Regions from separate parts of the Homo sapiens genome. Here regions 2, 3 and 4 are each linked to region 1. Evidence: promoter capture Hi-C in human tissues and cell types (Jung and others, 2019). All regions are on one chromosome and are shown on one strand. The core of a region is centred on a gene start or on the middle of the fragment in contact, and the rest is flanking DNA. Distances in the headings are between cores, read along the strand shown.

The links. The method cuts DNA at HindIII sites, captures the fragments that hold promoters and counts their contacts. A contact is called where the count stands out against the background at its distance.
Region 2: a contact is called between a fragment that was not itself captured here and the fragment with the promoter of HDAC11 in region 1, in 1 of the 25 tissues and cell types used here (H1 embryonic stem cells).
Region 3: a fragment that was not itself captured here is called in contact with the fragment with the promoter of HDAC11 in region 1 in 1 of the 25 tissues and cell types used here (dorsolateral prefrontal cortex).
Region 4: a fragment that was not itself captured here is called in contact with the fragment with the promoter of HDAC11 in region 1 in 3 of the 25 tissues and cell types used here (H1 embryonic stem cells, adrenal gland and spleen).

What each region holds. Positions count from the first base shown.
Region 1 is chr3:13,479,020-13,481,582 of GRCh38, reverse strand. HDAC11 (histone deacetylase 11) reads right to left here and starts at 1,277. Exons shown (of 10, transcript NM_024827.4): 1 at 1,234-1,277; 2 at 189-337. The coding sequence starts at 1,235. It overlaps HDAC11-AS1 (HDAC11 antisense RNA 1), which reads left to right and starts at 1,530. Exons shown (of 2, transcript NR_046690.1): 1 at 1,530-1,940. RefSeq lists enhancers at 556-1,212, 1,862-1,921 and a silencer at 912-1,401. The HindIII fragment of the contact is 10,065 bases long and covers 1-2,563 here.
Region 2 is chr3:13,831,529-13,834,091 of GRCh38, reverse strand. The region is part of intron 3 of WNT7A (Wnt family member 7A); the gene reads left to right. Among named protein-coding and RNA genes, the nearest start is that of WNT7A, 47 kb to the left of the region's middle. RefSeq lists an enhancer at 48-548. The HindIII fragment of the contact is 4,838 bases long and covers 1-2,563 here.
Region 3 is chr3:13,156,259-13,158,821 of GRCh38, reverse strand. It overlaps a transcript of IQSEC1 not described here. Among named protein-coding and RNA genes, the nearest start is that of IQSEC1, 84 kb to the right of the region's middle. The HindIII fragment of the contact is 3,739 bases long and covers 1-2,563 here.
Region 4 is chr3:13,196,325-13,198,887 of GRCh38, reverse strand. It overlaps a transcript of IQSEC1 not described here. Among named protein-coding and RNA genes, the nearest start is that of IQSEC1, 120 kb to the right of the region's middle. RefSeq lists an enhancer at 487-1,107. The HindIII fragment of the contact is 4,879 bases long and covers 1-2,563 here.

The DNA of each region.
Region 1 (2,563 bases), core at 28-2,527:
CAGGGACATCATATCGTGATTAGGAGTCTGTGTTGGAAAAATCATTTTGGGCGGAAGCATGGGTGGAAGGCCATCCGAGGGCTGAAACTGAAGATGGGAGAGAGCCTGAGGCTTATGTTGGGGATGAGGACGGAGAGGACAGGTGGGTTGGAGGAAGCAGATGAGAGTCCAAGGGGGACCTTCCATACCTTTTAGGAAATTGATCACTTTGCCCCATTTTCCGGCATCAAAGGGATGCAGCTTCTCCAGGCCCATGAAGGTGATGTTGTAGCGCGGCGAGTACACGATTGGCCAGCGTGTCTCTGGCACATGCTGGTACAGCTGGGTTGTGTGTAGCCTACCGTGTGGAAAAAGACAGACGCACAGCTGGGGCAGCCTCGGCAGAAAGCAGCTCCCTCCCGAGCCCGCCTGGACTGACCCACCAGCCATTGCCCAGCACCACTAGCCCCTCAGCCGCAGACAAGGGCCCCTCAACAACAGCTGCTTAAACTGGCTGCCTTTCCCGGAACCCAATTCCAATCCAGTCCTCACAGCAGCCCTGGGGGTAGGCACCACAATCGCACCAGAGGCTCAGAGAGCAGACCAGGTGTGCCCAAGGTCACAGTGCAGGTCTGTGGAGAAGCAGGCGTGCACTCAGGTGTGTCTGGCTGCAAGGCCTCCGCGCATCACCTCTGCACCGTAATAAATGCCCCCACAGCTGTGTGGCACAAGGCTTCGGCTGCAAAATGTGTGGCTGTTGTGAGGACTCAGAGAATGCAACTGAGGAGCTGAGCACAGTAAGCACTCAGAAACCCAAGTCGGGACCCAACCTGAGCCAGGGCGGGGGGCGGGGATCCCCTGACCCCGCTGCGCTGCTAACCCTTCCCATCACACCCTGGCAGTCGTCACCCAGAGACAGAAATCCGCCCCAGTGGCTGCCTCCGTGGGGGCGTCCGCGTAGCCAGGGGGCTGGGCAGCGCAGACGTCAGACCCGCGCACATCGCCCGACCGCTCCGGGTCCGGGCCCAGGCCCGCGGCCGGCGCGCGTCCCTCGGGCCACCGAGCAGGGGCGCGGGGCTGGCCTGGCGCGCCGGGAGGGCCTGGAAACACCCGTCCCGAGCGTCCCTCACCCCTCACCAGCAAATCTGGGCCCTTACCTGGCGCGCCCGCCCGGCCGTCCCCGCCCTCGCCCTAGCGCGCCCGCCCACCGGGACCCCTGGGAGCCCACCCCCGCCCTCGCCCCGCGGCACTCACATCCCGGGGCCGGCCCTCCCAAAGCTGGCCGCAGCTCCGCGACCGGGCGGGGCGGGGCGGGGCGCGGGTGGGGCCAGCCCAGGACACGCCCCCGGGCTTAGCCGCGTCCTCTGGGGGCAGAGCTCTGGCCGATTTGGCCCGCCCCGCCAGTGTTGCGACACAGAGAGCCTGCCCGCAGGAAGGCCACCCCCAACGCCCATCAAGCCCGAAGTCCCGCCTCCGCAGGCAAATACCCGGTGGAATCCCGCCTGGTTCGGAAGCTCCGCCCCCTGGCGGGAGGGCCAAGCGGGTTTCACCCCGGCCTCGCGGAAGGGGCGCGACCACCGTATGTCCTGTTCCTGCGCTTCCCAAGCTGGGTAGAAACGGCGAGAGGCTGGGGGTTAGAAACGACAGGTTCCCGGCGGGCTGTGCCGGGGCTTCGCTGTGTGACCTTGGGCTGGCGTCTGGGCTCTCTGGGCCCTTGTTTCCGCGAGTTAAACGTAGGGGCGGGGGAGTTTCTCTGGCCCTGCCGCCTGTGACCTAAGGAGCCCCGTGACCTCTCCGACCCGAGCCCACCCCCGGCCCAGTCTGCGAGCAGCTCCGGGACAAGCACTCCCGGCGAAGACATGTAGGCTCTCAGAGCCTGCGTTTCCCTCTGTAGAGCAGGCCTAGTTACTGTCTTCAGGGTGCACGCGTCTCCGTCCCCGACCCGCACCCTCACCGCCGGGGTAAGCTGAGCCAGGCCCAAGCGACAGCTGGGGTTGTCCGTGGGGCTGCAACCCAGGAGGAGGCCCCAACAATAGAGCCCCAGAGGACGGAGACAATGGGCCTCTCTGTCGGCCCAGCCGTCCCCGCCATCCAAACAGAAGCAGCTGACGGAGGACTGCCGGGCTGGGATCCCTGGGCTCCGCGGGGGCGGCTGTGTGCCAGGGCGGGGCACAAGGGAAGCGCACAGACGTTTGAAGAGGGGCCCCCGTGTGCCTGCCATGATTGCATGATGGCATCTGAGCCTCACAACCTAATCCTGAGAAAGGTGCCATAATCACCCCAACTTTATCTTGAGGGAACTGAGGTTCGGGCCTGGATTAAACCCAAACTCGGCCACCCGCCAGCATAGTGGCTTTGGGCAGGTTGCTTCAGCCTTCTGGTCCTTCATGTCTGCATCTGAAAATGAAGTACTGGGCCGGGTGCGGTGGCTCACGCCTGTAATCCCAGCACTTTGGGAGGCCGAGGCGGGTGAATCACCTGAGGTCAGGAGTTCGAGACCATCCTGACCAACATGGTGAAACCCCGTCTCTACTAAAAATACAAAAAATTAGCTGGGCGTGATGAAGGGCGCCTGTAATCCCAG
Region 2 (2,563 bases), core at 30-2,529, 350 kb before region 1:
GCTGTGACCACAGGAACGGGAGCAAGTTTGCGCTTTCCTTCAGGGCCACCATTGGTGGAAGCTGGTATCAGCCTTATGCCCGTGTGACAGTTGACAGCACAGCCACCTCCCCCTCCAGAGCTTAAGCTTCAAGGGAGTCAGGGGCTTGCCTCTTTCTGCCCACCTGGCCACCAACCTCAGCGCCTGGCCAGGGAAGGGATTAAGTTAGCGTGTGGTGGAAAGGTGAATGAGTGGATGAATGAATAAGTGAATGTATGACTGACTGCCAAGGCCATTTCAGGGTGCTCCAGCAGTTGGGAGAAGCACATAGGTTCAGTGGCTCCATGTCCCCGCTGTCAGCCTCCCTGCCCCTCACGCTGTGGTTGGGGTTACCCAATTGCCTCACCCCAGGTCACAGGCCACAGTCCCCACTAACCTAGACTCTGGGACAGGCCTGCCCAAGGCAACCCCTGCCCCGTAGTCAACCTAGCAGCCTGCAGGGAGGTCACTTATGAGAGAGAGGCACCCAGAATGCATCTAGGAGAGGCTGCACTGTGTGGTGCTGCACTGTGTGGGGCTCGACTATTCCACCTCCAAATGGGTTTGCTACTTTAAATGCCCCAGTTTACAGGGGAGCAAAGCTGAGACCTGGCCCCAGGCCCCCCATGCCAGTGTGCAGTGGGTCCATCTGCTAGCCACCACCATATGGGCTCCCTTCATGTTTGAGGGTGTGTGTGTGTGCGCTTGTGTGCCGGGAAGTATGTGGGCAGGACTGTGTGTGAAGGGCTATCTGTGCATATGTTGTGTAGGGATGGACGGCATGAGAAGCACCTGTGTGTGAGCATATGTGTCATGCATACCTGTGAGGGAGTGTGTGAGTGTGCGCACAGGCGTAAGAGTGTGTGCTTTGAGTGTGCTGATGAGTGTGAGGGTGTGAGCCTGTGGGGGGTTGCATGGGGCCATGCCTGGGGAGGTTGTGTATGTGTGAGCACATGGTGGGATGTGACTGTGTGCAGGCCACACAGGTTACTGGGGGGGTAGGAGCCTAGAAAGAGATGAATCTGGGGTGAGGGGCTGTGTGTCCACAGTTCTCGGGCTCCTAAGATACCCCAAAGTTGGGCAGAGACCAGTTCATGGAGGGTCTTGAAAGCCAGGCAGAGGAATCTGGGCTTTAACCTCAGGAGCCATAGACAGCATCTAAGCAGTTGTAACCTGGCAAACACTGAGTTTCAGAAGGCCCCCAGTATAGACCAGAAAACCTCTCTCTGGCTTGAGTGGAAACCTCTCTTCCTGTACCTCCCAGGCTGCATTCCAGGGGCCCTGTCCTATGGGGTGCACCTTTTCCCTGCCATCCCCTCCATGTCAGGCAGGAATATTTGCTTGAAGTCAGTGCATCCAGAATGACTTAAAGAATGCACCAAAAAGAAAATACCTCAAATGTTTACAGAAAAAAAAAAAAGCCATTTTTTCTGCTCTTTCATCTGAGTCGCCCAGAGGTATACAGCTGCAGCTGGCTGAAATGCAGCTTTCTGCTAAGATGGATCGACATGGGGAGGGAGAGGAGGAGCAGGAGGAGACTGAGAAGGAGGAGGAAGAGCAGGAGAAAGAGTAGGAGGAGCCTGAGGAGGGGGAGGAGGAGGAAGAGCAGGAGAAGCTTGGGAAGAAGGAGAAGCTTGAGAAAGAGGAGGAGCCTGTGAGAAGGAAGAGTGGGAGGAGCCTGTAGAGGAGGAGGAGTGGGAGGAGCCTGTGGAGGATGAGGAGCAGAAGGAGGAAGAGTAGGAGAAGCTTGGGAAGAAGGAGAAGCCTGTAGAGGAGGAGGAGCCTGCAGAGGAAGAGGAGGAGCAGGAGGATGGGAGCAAGAGGAGGAGGAGGGGGAGAAGGAGGAGCATGAAGAGCAAGAGAAGGAGAAGGAGGAGCAGGAGGAAGAGCAGGAGGATCTTGAGGAGGAGGAGGGGGAGCAGGAGGAGCCTGAGGAGGAGGAAGAGGGGGAGGAGGAGGAGGAATATCATCAGGAGCAGGAGAAGCAGGAGCAGGAACAGGAGGGGAGCAGGTGGTGGCAGCTCTGGATGGGAGCCTGTAGCACCTATCCTGGTGTGGGTATCCACACTTATTGTCTCCCGGGGTTGGGGGTCCAAGGCTGCCTGCCCGCTGACCTCCACGTTGTCTTTATTCAGTGCCTTGGAAAGGGTCCCTGGTTTGGACATTTGCAAGCAGGACAGGTCCTGGGCGGGACTCTGGGGAGATACACCTATAAGGCAGTGAGGAAGGCAGCCCTGGGCATCGAGAGAAGTTGGCCAGTGATGCAGCAGCCACAGGGACTTATGCTGGTCCCATGAGAAACCTGGAGCTGGGTTAGCCCCATGGAGGCAGGGAGATGGGCCTTTGTACCCAGCACCAACCAGTCTTTGGCTGGGGGGCTGCCCAGGGAGGGGGAGTGGTCTTGGGTGAGACAGCTCCCATCAGGGGAGGGCAGTGCCTAGGGAGGAACTCAGCTGCTAGCCATCAGCAGCAACACTCCCAGCAGCTGCAGAGGGAGTGTCTGGTCCTGAAGGACAGATCCCAGTGGCATGCGACAGTGTCCACT
Region 3 (2,563 bases), core at 34-2,533, 320 kb after region 1:
CTTGGCTAATTTTTGTATTTTTAGTAGAGACAGGGTTTTGTCATGATGCCCAGGCTGAACTTGAACTCCTGGGCTCAAGTGATCTGCCTGTCTCGGACTCCTAAAGTGCTGGGATTACCACGCCCAGCCCTGACCTTAGAAGCATATTGCATGAGGTGGTCCCATGTAGGTCGCCTCCCCGTCAGGACTCTGAACGTTGACTGGCATTTTCCAAAGGCAACAGCAAGGCTCAGGGCTGGGACAATGAGGAGAGCCCAAGGACTGTTTTGTTTGGGGATGGTGGGGGAGATTCTGGAGACGGTGGGCCTGGTTACCAGCATTGACTCAGCTGGAACCAAGATGTGTGAGTAAACGTAATTAGTCCAAACAAATCCAGTTTTCTGTCTCCATACCAAGGCAAAGCAGCCTTTGTAATTAACTGGGCCTTTTTCCCCAAACCCAAAATGAGAACACACAGTTTATTTTGTTCACAAGGAGGTATGAAAACTGCTGAACGTGGCAGACAAAGCTGGGAGTGTTTGCTGTGCCAGGTAGACAGAGCTGAACTCTTTCTCTCCAGGAAGGAATGGGAGCAGGCTCCAAATGTGAGAGACGGGCTGGGGCTGGGCCGGGTCCCTCTGCCGCTATCCAGCCATGTTTTGGAGGTGCTGGACTGAGGGCTGAGCCGGCGGCCTCTGGAGGCGAGTGGACATTTCTTAGCACGGTGGAATCAAAAGAGTACAGACACTGGGGGCAGATAATCTTGAATTCAAATCCTTTCTCTTTGTCTTACCCTCATGTCACTATGCAACAGCCCCTGAGCTCTCCAAGCCTCAGATTTCACACTCATTTAACAGTCTTCATTGAGCACCTACTGTGTCTTTGTGCTAACTACTAAGGGTGTGAAGACCAATGAGATACAGTTAATTTCTGCCCCATGATGAAATCGGAGCAAAGACTTTAGCCTCAAGGCCATGGACCAATTAAATGAGGCATAGATGGAACAGCACATGCCATGTCATAGCATTCAGTTAACATCCATTTCCTTTCTTCTCCCTCTGCCACAGTCTGTGGAGACGCGGCTGCTCAGAATCCTGAGGGAGGGTCTGAGGCAAGCCCATGTTTACATGAGCAGGAGGTGGTAGCAGCTGCTTGTAGAGTGTGCCCTTTTGGCTGTCCTCCTTCCTTCCTTTGCTCCCCTGGGTTTATGATTGAGATTTCTTGGGCATTCTTGACTGTGGTGGACTTTACTTTTCCATCTCCTTGACTCTGTGCTGTATCCTGAGCAATTTCCTCAGGATGGTCTTCTAGTTCACTAGTGCTTTCTTCAGCTGTGTTCATTCTGCTGTGTGGCCTATGAATTGTGGGTCCCTGAGACCCTTGAATGGCCTCTGGATACCCTCAGCCTGCTTTCAGAGGCACTACTGGGCCTTTCTTTACACGGGAAGTAGAAAGATCTTATAGGAGCCACATTGAAGTCACTGGGCAAAAACCTATCTGACTGGGTGTATTTTGCGTTTTGATTTGTTTTCTGTGAACTTGTGTAGAGAATTAATAACTGACTGTTTAGAAGATGAGGCAGAGATATTGGTGTGGGGGCAAGGGAGTCTACTAATGGGGAATTAGACTAAATCCCAAAATACATTTGGTAAGCCTTGTCTAAACATCTGCTTCTATTGCAACCAAATCTTAAAGGTACTTAGAAGGTGGTGACACAATGTGTATGTGTGCATCTGACCCAGGTCCAGTGTTTGGGACAGTGAGGACTTTGAAACCAGGGTCTAAGCTGAATGACCTTGGTCAAATGACTCAAATTCCCTGAGCCTCAGTGTCCTTATCTCAAATGGAAATGAAAACATCAAGAGTTTTCTTGATCTTGTCCACATCTGACTCTCCATTCTCTCCTCCATCACTGTGGTCATCACACTCTGGCCTTCTGGTACCTCCATTCTTCCAAGCTCATTAGTGTCCCAGGGCCTTTGCCTGTGCTGTTCCCTCAGCCTAGAACATGCTCCCCCAGGTCTCACCCAAGATGAGTTCTCCTCAGTCCAATCCCCCTTCAGATGTCAGCTCCTCTTCCCTTATCATCTCACCTGAAGTAACCTAGCCAATCTCTGCACATCAGCCAGTTTACTTCTGTCCCTTATCTGCCTGTCCCCACTGGAATGTCAGCAGGAACTTTGTCTTATGCAGTGCTGTGCCTCAGTGCTCTGCCATGTGCCCTGGCACAGCATGCTATTTTGGTCTCTGTACTTGCCACTTCCCACATCCAAGGGGAGCACCTCTGGAAGGAGGCCAGAGCTAAATGTGCTAAGCTTGTCTGTCCACATGCCTGAATGCTCCCACTTCTGTCCCTCCATCATGCACTTCTTTCTCTTTCCTAATTGCCTATCTAGGACTTCCAATACTATGTTGAGCCCAAATGACAAAAATGACATCCTTGTCTTGTTCCTGATCTTAGCTAAAAAGCTTTCAGTCTTTCACTGCTGAGTATGATGTTAGCTGTGGATTTTTTGTATATGGTCTTCATTATGTTGAGGTAGTTTCTTTCCATTCCTATTTTGTTTAGTGTTTTTATTTTATT
Region 4 (2,563 bases), core at 32-2,531, 280 kb after region 1:
CCAGGAACAGAAAGTGTGGGATTCTGCTTTTCTTCAGCAGAATAATAACTCCTCACTCCAAGGGCATGAGCTCCAGCAGGCACTGGCTTCAGCTCCCACGTGCCTTGCTGTGTTGGGTGCTTTGGGTGGAGGCTTAGCCTCTTCTTGTGGTGGAGAAACACAGGCTAAGACATGGCAGTGCCTTGCCCATGGTCACATGGTGTGTAAGAGGACGCAGCCAGCCGGCATGAGAGCTGGAATTCAAAGGCAGTTGGCTGTGGTATGATCCCGGCTGTAGGTCACCACCAAGCCAAACTCAGAACATGTGCATTTCCCTGTGCCACCCAGAGTGTCATGCACAGGACTCTTGGTGGTGGCAGGACATTCCAGCGGTCATCACCGCCTAGGAGCTGAGCTGCGTGAAATCTGCATCTCACTCTGGGTGGAGCCCCTTCCTGCCCCCCGCCTACCCTGGTTGGTGAGTTCTCAGACTGGATCTCTAGGCGCGGTATGCACTCTTCAGATGAGCCACCCAGAACCTCCAGGGGGACAGCCCACGGCCATCCCAAGCTTCAGAATTACTCTTTAAATATTTTGTGTTTACATGGTTGCAAGGCTTATGCTTTTGGGAGAAAAAAGCCCACAAATGGGCCATAACAAGCAGGAGAAGCAGAAAGTAAATTACCTTTTAATGTCTGGATGAGCTTGTTGACCGTAGGACTAAATTATAGGGGTCCTCTGTGGGGCATGAGCAGAAATTGTTAGAATTAGAGAAAACAGGCCACGTGGCCTGAGCTCAGCACCTCTTCACACAATTCTCCTCCAGGCAAGGGTCATCATCTCTGTCCTTTCAGACCCTGCGTGCCCACAGAGTCTAAGCCCTGCCCCGGGGCCACAGGGCATAGTCCTCTCCACAGAGAGGCCTCGGGAGGCCGGGTGCACGCTGTGCACACACATCCAAGCCGCGGGCACCACGCTCCGCTCCTGCTGGGCAGCCTTGGGCAGGCCACTCAGGCCCTCCAAGACCAGGGTTTTTCTTCCCGCTGGCTGGGGGACTCGCTCCCACCTAGCTCATGTCCAGCCTGTACTAAAGCCTAATTCGGCCTTGACTATCTTCCTTGGCCTCTCTGGACCTCAGTGTGCCCACCTGTGAACGGGGCACACTTCCCTACCAGCTTGCAATGTTGATGCCCCACCCATGCCTGGCCTGTGCACCTCCCTGAACCACTCTGCTGGTCGTAAGGTGGGATGCTGACTAGCGACTACTGCATGCGGCCGTGAAGTTATCAGGGCCTGGGTCTGGACTCTGTCAAGATGCTGCTGAATAGGGCGGGCAGCTTGGTCGTAGGGGCCCTGGTCATTATGCAGCCTGTGGGGGACATTTGAGGCCCCCAGTCCCTGTAGCCTTGTGGAGAGTGGCCTGCCCTGCAGCTGGCCTGGTGATGAGTGTTGGCTGCTGGGACACTTCAGGATGGGGCCGGGCACCAGCACGTCCTGTCTGCCAGGCTGGGAACTCAGTGCCTGTCCAGCTCAGCCCCAGTGGGGCAGGGAGCACCCCACCCTCCAGCGCCCCTGGCCATGCATCTGCCGTTTATGAAGATGCCTCTTTCCCGCTGTTGTGGGCGCTTGGGGGCTGCAAATGTTGATTTTTAAAAAATGTGTGCAGGGAGCAAGCGTTTCCCGTTCAAGTGAAGGAAGACATGGTTCATGTGCATCCCTGACCTTCCGTAGGGGATATCTGTTCAGATGTCTTCAGGCTCCTGGAGAGGCAGACAAAGCTACACAGTCCCAAGAGGAGGTAGCCTTTGATGTCCTTGCTGTCTTGGTCTATGGTCCACAGTGTCCCAGGGCACAGGGGCCTCCAGGTGGAGGCAGTGTCGTGGCAAGGGTCTTAACTGCAGCCCTCCTCAACTCTCCCTACGCATCCTGCCTCAGAGAACACCCTTCCTGCCTCTGAGCTGGGTCTGCTGCCCGGTGACACCCCCACCCGGATCCCACAGACTCTCCTGCTCCCCCTGACTTGGGACAAGCCTGTGTGGCCTGAGAGACAAGGAATAGAGCCCCTGCGGCTGCTTCTTTCTGGACTTCCTGGGATGGGCTCTCCAGCCTGCTCCCCACCACACACACACACACACACACACACACACACACACACACACGCACACACATGTACATACACACGCACGCGCATGCCAGGGATATTCATTATTCATTCACTGAAAGATTTACCTTTCATTTGCAAAGGGAATCAGAAACGTGTGTTCTTCTCATTGGGAAAGAAGCAGGGAGACTTGGCAGGCTGCTCACGCAGCCCTCCCTGTGGCCTGTTCTCCAGGAGATGGGGCTGAGTGACAGCCAGACGTGCAGGGCAAGCAGCCTGGGAAATGCTGCAGTGACAGGAGCCTGTCTCAGAGGCGCTCAGGAAGGAAGCCACATTGAGCCCTCGGTTGAGGAGGAAGGAAATGTGCACCTTGGGGAACAAAGCTTGCCAAACCTTAGTGGTGTAGAACAGCAGGCTTCATGCGTTACCTTTCCTTGTCTCTGAGGTCAGGATGGCTTGCCTCTGCTCCACAACGTCTGCGGC